Linked DNA regions of Homo sapiens: all the other regions are linked to region 1. Evidence: promoter capture Hi-C in 16 types of primary human blood cells and fetal thymus (Javierre and others, 2016). All regions are on one chromosome and are shown on one strand. Each heading gives the region's core, a stretch centred on a gene start or on the middle of the fragment in contact. The rest is flanking DNA. Distances are from core to core; before and after follow the strand shown. Region 1 holds the start of MAP3K5-AS1 (MAP3K5 antisense RNA 1). Region 2 overlaps PEX7 (peroxisomal biogenesis factor 7). Region 3 overlaps MAP3K5 (mitogen-activated protein kinase kinase kinase 5).

What was found. Contacts are between HindIII fragments. The CHiCAGO score rates a contact against its expected background, and 5 or more counts as called.
Region 2: a contact is called between a fragment that was not itself captured here and the fragment with the promoter of MAP3K5-AS1 in region 1, in 4 of 17 cell types (non-activated CD4 T cells, naive CD4 T cells, activated CD4 T cells and 1 more). The highest score is 5.9, in non-activated CD4 T cells.
Region 3: a contact is called between a fragment that was not itself captured here and the fragment with the promoter of MAP3K5-AS1 in region 1, in 8 of 17 cell types (total CD8 T cells, naive CD4 T cells, naive CD8 T cells and 5 more). The highest score is 7.0, in total CD8 T cells.

Annotation. Positions count from the first base shown.
Region 1 is chr6:136,627,550-136,630,540 of GRCh38, reverse strand. It overlaps MAP3K5-AS1 (MAP3K5 antisense RNA 1), which reads right to left and starts at 1,427. Exons shown (of 3, transcript NR_125858.1): 1 at 1,265-1,427. The region is part of intron 14 of MAP3K5 (mitogen-activated protein kinase kinase kinase 5); the gene reads left to right. It also overlaps the pseudogene RNA5SP219. The HindIII fragment of the contact is 14,560 bases long and covers 1-2,991 here.
Region 2 is chr6:136,840,943-136,843,933 of GRCh38, reverse strand. All of the region lies in intron 3 of PEX7 (peroxisomal biogenesis factor 7), which reads right to left. Among named protein-coding and RNA genes, the nearest start is that of PEX7, 20 kb to the right of the region's middle. The HindIII fragment of the contact is 3,230 bases long and covers 1-2,991 here.
Region 3 is chr6:136,773,803-136,776,793 of GRCh38, reverse strand. The region is part of intron 1 of MAP3K5 (mitogen-activated protein kinase kinase kinase 5); the gene reads left to right. Among named protein-coding and RNA genes, the nearest start is that of MAP3K5-AS2, 8.7 kb to the left of the region's middle. The HindIII fragment of the contact is 173 bases long and covers 1,410-1,582 here.

The sequences.
Region 1 (2,991 bases), core at 178-2,677:
AATTTAGATAAGGTTTTTTTCTGCTGCTGCTGTTTTTCTGATGTTTTCAGCCTAAAATCATCTTCATCCACATCAGTGGGTCCAAATGGATCTCACTAATGCACTCACATATTTTTGGACAGCTATTGAATGGTAGGCACCATTCCATGTGCTGGAGAGATGGCAGAGAACAAAATGGAGAGAAATTCCTGCTATCACTGAGAGCTTACATGCTCTCATCTAAGTCTTAATCGGGCCCAACTCTGCTTAGCTTCCGAGATCAGAAGAGATTGGACGCATTCAGGGTGGTATAGCTGTAGACTCAGGTTACTTTCTAATGAGAGACGGACAATAAACACAAATAAGTAAAATACCATCTATAGTATGTTAGATGGTGATCAGGGTTAAGGAGAATAATAAACCAGGGAAGGGTTTAGGAAGTTACAGTGTAGCAGGGACGTGCAATTTTAGATAGGAAGGCCTGGGAAGCTCATTAAGAAGGTAAGATTTAGGCCGGGTGTGGTGGCTCATGCCTGTAATCCCAGCACTTTGGGAGGCAGAGGAGTTGGATTGTTTGAGGTCAGGAGTTTGAGACCAACCTGGCTAAAATGGCGAAACCCCATCTCTACTGAAAATACAAAAATTAGCCGGGCATGGTGGCAAGCGCCTGTAATCCCAGCTACTCGGGAGGCTAAAGCAGGAGAATCGCTTGAACCTAGGCACTCCAGCCTGGGCGACAGAGTGAGACTCTAAATAAATAAATAAATAAATAAATAAATAAATAAATAAATAAATGAAGGTGAGATATGGCCGGGCGCCATGGCTCACACCTGTAATCTCAGCACTTTGGGAGACCAAGGCGGGTGGATCATGAGGTCAGGAGATTGAGACCATCCTGGCTAACAAGGTGAAAGCCCATCTCTACTAAAAATACAAAAAATTAGCTGGGTGTGGTGGCGGGCACCTGTAGTCCCAGCTGCTCGGGAGGCTGAGGCAGGAGAATGGCGTGAACCTGGGAGGCGGAGCTTGCAGCGAGCTGAGATTGTGCCACTGCACTCCAGCCTGGGCGACAGAGCGTGACTCCTTCTCAAAAAAAAAGGTGAGATGTGAGTAAAGATCTAAGGGAGGAGAGATCCATCACACTAGATATTTGTACCTGCAGTGTTTTTGGCATTCTATTAATGTTATTAGTAGTTATTAATGTTTTGGCATTTACATATAAAGAAGGCCATACAGACTGAACATTAACAGAGCTGCCATTTGGGTCTTTGAGGTGATTACTCACCTAATGTGATTAAGCCCCCGCCGAAAGTGCATGGTTTTTTCTAAGGTGGTTGTTTCCTTCGAGAGTGCAAGGACTCAGTGAGTCACCACTTCGTTGTTTGGCCTTGTCAATGTTGCCTTCCTACACTGATTCTCTTCCCGCTACCAGTTTTGATTGTTCTGAGCAGACAGCAATAAAGAGATGATTCTAGAAAAATTCTCATGATTGCCTCAGAATGAAATTCTTGTTTCCCTTAGCAACAACCTGATTTGCTAACCTATTACCATAGAAATAGAATGCAAAATATATAAGCAATGTAATGTTACCTTTTATTTTTTAAAACCCTCTCTTCTACTATTCCTGGACATTACATAGATGATTCTCTGTCCTTCTAGGCTGAACCAGTCTCTTGTTTCTTTTCAGCTTTCTTTCAAAACTGCCATTTCAATTTCTATCTTTATCTCGTAAGAATAGAAAGGGGAGATAGAAAAACAAAGCAGCAATTACCCACAGAGATGGTTTTACTTAAATAACACTGCTCTTTTTACAATTCCTTTTCATTTTACTATCACCATTTTGTTTAACAGGAGTCAGCTTCTATATCTAATCTTCTATATCTAATACATAATCTTTTAAATCTGTATCTAATACGTAATCTTTTAAAAAATAGTCTTCTGATGCCTTAGATTCCTAGGGGAAATTAAAACTTTAGCAGCCTCATCAAGGTTTATGTATTCTTCACTCTTCTATATAAGCATACCTGTTGTAGAGCTGGACCTGGTGGTGTGCACCTGAGTCCCAGCTATTTGGGAGGATCACTTGAGCCCAGGACTTTGAGTCCAGCCTGGGTAACATAGCAGGACTCCATCTCTTTAAAAAAAAAAACTGCTGAGTATGATGGCTCCCACCTGTACTCCCAGTGGTTGGGAGGCCGAGGCAGCAGGATCAGTTGAGGCCAGGAGTTCAAGGCCAGCCTGGGCAACATAGCAAGACCCCATCTCTACAAAAAATAGAAAAAATTAGCTGGACATAGTGCTGTACACCTGAAGTCCCAGCTGTTGAGGAGGCTGAAGTGGGAGGATTGCTTGAACCTAGGAGTTCAAGGCTGCAATGAGCTATGATGGCACCACTGCACTCCGGCCTAGGCGACAGAGCAAAACACTCTTTAAAAAAAAAAAAAGATTTAAATATATCTATTGGAAAAATGCTTTCACCCAAGAATAAACCAATAATGACTCTAAATGTTTTGTTTTGGGATCTAGTTCTTTTCTAAAAAAGTTCTCATCACATTTTTCTATAACTTGATTAATTAGTTAAGCAAATAATTACTGAGCATCTACTACAAGCTACATGCTAAAACTGGGGATAGAGTAATTAAGGATGAAGTCCCAAGTCTCGAAGAGCTCAAGTGTCCAGACGAGGATGACAGAGGTAGCCGTAAGATCTTGAAGGGCATTGTCTTGGTCCATCCAGGCCGCTATAACAAAATGCCTTAGGCTGGGTAATTTATACCCAATAGAAATGCTTTGCTCACAGTTCCAGAGGCTGAGAAATCCAAGATCAAGGCACCAGCAGATTCAGTGTCTGGTGAGGGCCTACTTCCTCTAGATGGTACCTTCTGTGGGTGCTCACATGGCTGAAGGCTCAACCAGGCTCCTTCAAGCCTCTTTCATAAGGGGACTAATCCCATTCATGAGAGCTCTAGCCTCATGACCTAATCACCTTCTAAAGGGCCTAACTCTTAATAC
Region 2 (2,991 bases), core at 282-2,781, 210 kb before region 1:
TGATTATCAAGTTTTTTGGGGCCCCCTTAAATTGTGTACCTAGAGTGAGTGCCTCACACATTCTACCCTAGTCCTGGCCCTGCCTCTGCCCATATTCACGCAAAAGACAGAAGAGTAGTTGGAACACTAAAGGAAGCACAATCCAGCAACAGACAGCAGCTATAAAAGGAATAGAAGGGCCAGTGAAAACCAAAGAGCTGCTGTGGCCATCTGTTAGTTATGGATAGAAAAAAGGCTGGTTTGGAAGCAATCACTGAAGATCTTGAGAGCTAAAGAGTTTGATTTTATCCTCTAAATTTCGCCTACAAAGGACCATATAGTAAATGGTAAGTTTCTTCAAAAAAGGTACATTTCTTCTATAAAGGGCCATATGGTAAATACTTTAGATTTTACAGGCTATTTGGTCACTGTCACAACTACTAAACCCAGCTCTTATAGCACACACCAAGCAGCCATAGTCAATACCGAATGAATGCGCATGGCTTGATTCCAAAAAAACTTTATTTGTAAATCTAACTGCAGGCCAGATTTGGTCCTGGTCCACATGACGTAGTTTGCCAACCCCTGCTCTAGGCTGATGTAAACAGTCAAAAATAAAAATAGCAAACCTTTATTGAACACTCTGAGTGTCAGATCCTGTTCATAAGCACTTTATGTATTTTATTTCATTTAATCTTCATTTATATGAAGTAGATACTATATCAAGGCCCAGAGAGGTTAAGTAACTTGTCCAGAGTCCCAAAGCTAGTAAGGTGCAGATATGAAATCTGAACGTGGGCAGCCTAATTGCAGAGTCCACTTTTAATCGCAATGTGAGGCTATCTGTACAGCATGCTACTTGAGGGCACTGTTGAATCAGAACTTCTTGGCTACCTTAAGCCATGATATCAAGGAACTAAAGCTCTACCCCTGCTGGTTTCACCCTTTACTGGAGCTACATTTGGGCCTAGATTGATTCCACTGTGTTTTCATGAATTACCTATACACAGATCTTAAAGCCCCTCTCCACTTGTGAATTTCCATTTATCCATCAAGACGTGCCCCATTACATCCCTTACGAAATAAGCCTCCCCTGATAAGTCCTTCAATGAGTCATATGCTGCCTTCAACAGCAGCTCACACCTACTTCTAACTCAGCATTTACCATATTTTATTTACTAAAAAGAATGTTACATAACTCACATACCTGCTAGATTTTGGAGACTCCTAATGAGCAAAACATCTTGTACATCTATGTTCATCACAGTAAAATAGGCACTCAAACATTGGTTAAAATAATTTAACCAATTAAATTTTTCTTTACAACCTGAATCACTGCTAGGTAGGTACAGAGAACTACTAAGTAAATACTCATCATCAGCTCAGACTCCACTGCCTCCACACATTTCCAGTGTGATGCAGCAGGTGACACCTTATGACTACTCACCTTCTAAAACTGCAGGAGCCTCCACCGGCTCAAGAGAATCCAGCCTGAATCAACATCAAAGATAGAAGGTAAGAAAACCATGCTGATGGCATTGTTGCTGTCAGCTGTCTTCTGTTGCACAACCAAGTAGCAAGCATTAGGTCTCTATGACAGAGCTAAAGATAGGACACACATGGTGGTGAAGTTAAAAATGGGATCATAAAGAAGGAAATAGGCTGAGTGTGGTGGCTCACGCCTGTAATCCCAGCACTTTGGGAGGCCAAGGCGGGCAGGTCACTTGAGGCCAGGAGTTCAAGACCAGCCTGGCCAACATGGTGAAACCCCGTCTCTACTAAACATATAAAATTTAGCCAGGTGTGATGGCAGGCACCTGCAGTCTCAGCTACTCAGGAGGCTGAGGCAGGAGAATCGCTCCCAGGAGGTGGAGGTTGTAGTGAGCCAAGATTGTGCCACTGCACTTTAAGCTGGGTGACAGAGTGAGAACCTGTCTCAAAAAAAAAAAAAAGAAAAAGAAAAGAAAGGCAACTCAATACTATGTTTAAAATATTAGGACATGGGAAAGGAACTAACAGATCAGGAGACTGTGTGGGTTTTTTTTTTTAATTTAAAAAAAGAGTAATTACACCAGGCACGGTGGCTCATGCCTGTAATCCCAGCACTTTGGGAGGCCGAGGCAGGAGGACCGCTTGAGGCCACGAGTTCGAGACCAGCCTGGAAAATATGGCGAGACCCCCGTCTCTATAAAAAATTTTAAAAATTAGCCAGGTGTGGTGACCTATAACAGTAGTCCCAGCTACCCAGGAGGCTGGGGTGGGAGGATGGCTTGAGCCCACAAGGTCAAGGTCAAGACAGCAGTGAGCAGTGATCACGCCACTGCATTCCAGCCTGGGTAGCAGAGAAAGACCTTGTCTCAAAAACAAAACAAAACAAACTATAAACATAAGTACAAAAGGGGTGCTTGGATGGAAATTCAGCTTCGTGCTCAGAAGAGAAAGACTGAGGCAGGGCCCTGAGGGCTGGCTAAAATGTCAATAGGCAAAAAGCAGAGGTGAAACAGTAACCAGAAAACTTCCTCAAACACATAAATGGGAATATACAGCACCCTAGGGATCGGGGGTAGTGAACACTGCAAGATAACACCAAGGTTTTGTGCCTGAGGACTGTCAGTGATGGCAGCATTAACAAAAGTGAAAGACTGGAGGAAGGAAAATAATGTAATTTTATATATACTGAGTTTGAGGTGACAGCAAGACAGGGTTTGGGCATTAACCTCAAGCTCTGAAAAAAGTTCACAGCCAGAGAGATGTTTGAGAAACAGCTGAAAAGGGAAGAATGAATTCCATTATCCCAACTTCAATCAATTCACTCATCTATTCAACAAATATTTATTGAGCACCTACTATGTACTAGGCACGGGGGGAAAGGAGGTTACAATTTTAGATAAGACCAGCCCCCATGGATCTTATATTTTAGCAGCAGCAAACATGCTATAAATAAATGTATAATTTCAAGTTGCAATTTTTTTAAAAACTACAAAGAAAAAGCAGAGTAAGGAGAACAGAAAA
Region 3 (2,991 bases), core at 247-2,746, 150 kb before region 1:
TGACTTGATTACCATTTAACTTACAGGACCATTGTGTTAGTCTTACCAATCCGTTCAGCATATATTCAAATAAAGGGCAACAGAGGGCAGGCAAAAGGGAGACAACTCCAAGCTAAAGAATTTGTCGGTGTTGGAGGTTTGAGCTTAAGTAACCTTCCAGGAGTATTACGGTTAAATTTATAACATCCTCACCTGTGGCTCATTTGGTGCCCATTTGTGAAATCTTTAAGAAGATTAAACCTTAATAGCAGCCAGGTGCAGTGGCTCATGCCTATAATCCCAGCACTTTGGGAGGCAGAAGCTGGTGGATCGCTTGAGCACAAGAGTTCAAGACTAGAATGGGCAACGTGGTGAGACCTCTTCTTTACAAAAAATATAAAAATTTGCTGGTTGTGGTGGTACACACCTGTAGTCCCAGCTACTCAGGAGGCTGAGGTGGGAGGATCACTTTGAGCCAGAGAGGCAGAGGCTGCAGTGAGCCATAATTGCGCCACTGCACTCCAGCCTGGGTGACAGCAATGTCCTGTCTCAAAAATAAATAAATAAATAAAAAATAAAAGACAACCCCAAAACCATAATAGCATACAAGTGACACTCTTCTACTTTAGACGAATCGTGTATACACTTGGAACTAAAATTAAGATATTGATGTATCTCCTTGGTTTACCTGAAGAGACATTTTCACTGCTGGGTGAAATATACATAAGTAATGAGAAAGTACAGCCTCACAATTTCCAAGCTTCATAGAACTCAGGACTCTCCACTTAGTGTAGGTTTTATTAACGAAATAGGTTTTTATCATGTTAAATAATGAACACTCTTCTTGATGGATAATCTCTTGATTATTCAGGATTGGATCTTCTTATCATTACCTGTTTGCAGGCAAGTTAACTTCTAATTTGAAGTAGCCCAAGAAGGGCCAGATCTCATCTTCAAGTGATCCCAGAAGGGAATGCATTGTACACACAAAAGCTGTTGCCACCGTGTTGTGACATCGCTTGAGAATTTTCAAGCAAAATTGCACTGTGGTATTTGTATATTGCCATGCCTTAGTTTTCCCAGGCCACAACTATTTAATAGGCTTGTATGTTCCTCTAAAAACATCATTAGACACATTGGACTAAGTTTGCAGGAGTGGATGTATGAAGCAATCATGATTTTTCTGTTTTCACACTGTATGTTCTTTGGGTTATTCTCCATGGTTTATTATCAGGGGAGTTAGGTGCATGTTACCCAAAGAGTTCTGTGCCAGAGGATATGCCACATTTAATATGAGGAGGTTTTCTGAGAGCATAGAAGAAGAAAAAGGCTATGACAGGAGAATTCGAGACTCTCATCTGCTTTCAGTTTTCAGTTACCTGGTCTACGTGCCGAAAGCCTAATTTGAGACCTGGACTAGGTTACAAGCTTCTAATGACTTAATATTTAGTCTATGAGAATTATTTTTTCAAGACTTGTCATTGTCCCATTTAGCCACAGCAAAAAGTATTACCCAACTTTTGAGCCATAATCTATACCTAATATGTGGTCACCAGGTAAATTTCTTCCTGAATCCAGCACATTGCCTAGTTGCTTATAAGCTTGACCTTAGCATTCTTTTTCTTTTAAGGTATGAATAATCTTGGAACTATTTATCCTTCTATTTTTATTCTCTAAGATCTGAATTTTTTTTTAATTCATATTTCTGTTAGCAGCCCTATCTATTCCCTCTTGAAATGACCTCTGAAGGCTGTTAAATAAATTTTGATTTGCTTTAAGGATTCAGTATTCAAATCATGCTTGATTCTTTGGGAGATATAAAGAAAGCTGTTGCTCCATAGGTCTTGCATCATACGTGATATGACTAAGAAGGAACAACTGAAAAAGTCAAGTCCAATTTACACAATAATGAAAAACCTTTTGTTAGAAACATCTGACAAACAAGGAGCAGTTTCTGGTTTTTTAAAGAATCATTAGAATATAGTTCCATGTCTCTTTTTCTGTCTTGTTAACCCTGCACCTCTAGTACCTAATGGAGTGCTTGGCACTTGATACAGATTGATTGATTGAATGAATATCACACTTTCCCCCCAGTGGTGTTTTAGTTATTGGTTTTGATGTCTGCTTTTTCTGCTTAAGTGTGAGTTAATGACAAAGATCACATTTTATGGTTCTTGACATGCCCCAGGTCTTCTGTATCAGTGTGTGACCTGTAGATGACACTTAATGATGTTTGTAGAATACAATTCAATGATGTCATCCCTTTCCTGGAGCGGCTCACAGTCTGGTAAGGGAGACCAGCCTATGAACGTATTATATATATTGTGCTAATTGTTTGTTGTTGTTGTTTTTTAAAAAATTTGAGACTGAGTCACTCTGTCACCCAGGCTGGAGTGCAGTGGTGCGATCACAGCTCACTGCAGCCGTAACCTCCTTGGGCTCAGGCGATCCTCCCACTTCAGCCTTCTGAGTAGCTGGGATCACAGGTGTGTGCCACCATGCTGGCTAATTTTTTAATTCTTTTTTTGTAGAGATGGGGTTTTGCCATGTTGCCTAGGCTGGTGCTAATTGTTATACTAGAGGTTTATGTAAGGTTCTTTGAGAGCACAAATCATGGAGGATTCTTCAGGAGGAGAAGGAAGTGTGGAGGAGGTTGGCTAAGACATTGGACAGGAGGTGACATTTGAACTGGGTTTTGAAGGATAATGATGAAAGCTAACATTTATTGAGCACTTAACATGTGCCAGGCATTTTATAATAAATCATGGAAAAAATGAGTCTCTCCATAAGGAAGGGGTAGGATAAAGAGAAGGCCTATGATAGAACTAAGGAAACACTGGCATTTAAAGATGGACGGCGGGGCATGGTGACTCATGCCTGTAATGTAATCCCAGCACTTTGGGAGGCTGAGGCAGGCAGATCACCTGATGTTTGAGACCAGGTGTTTGAGACCAGCCTGGCCAACGTGGAGAAACCCCATCTTTACTAAAAATAGAAAAATTAGCTGGGTGT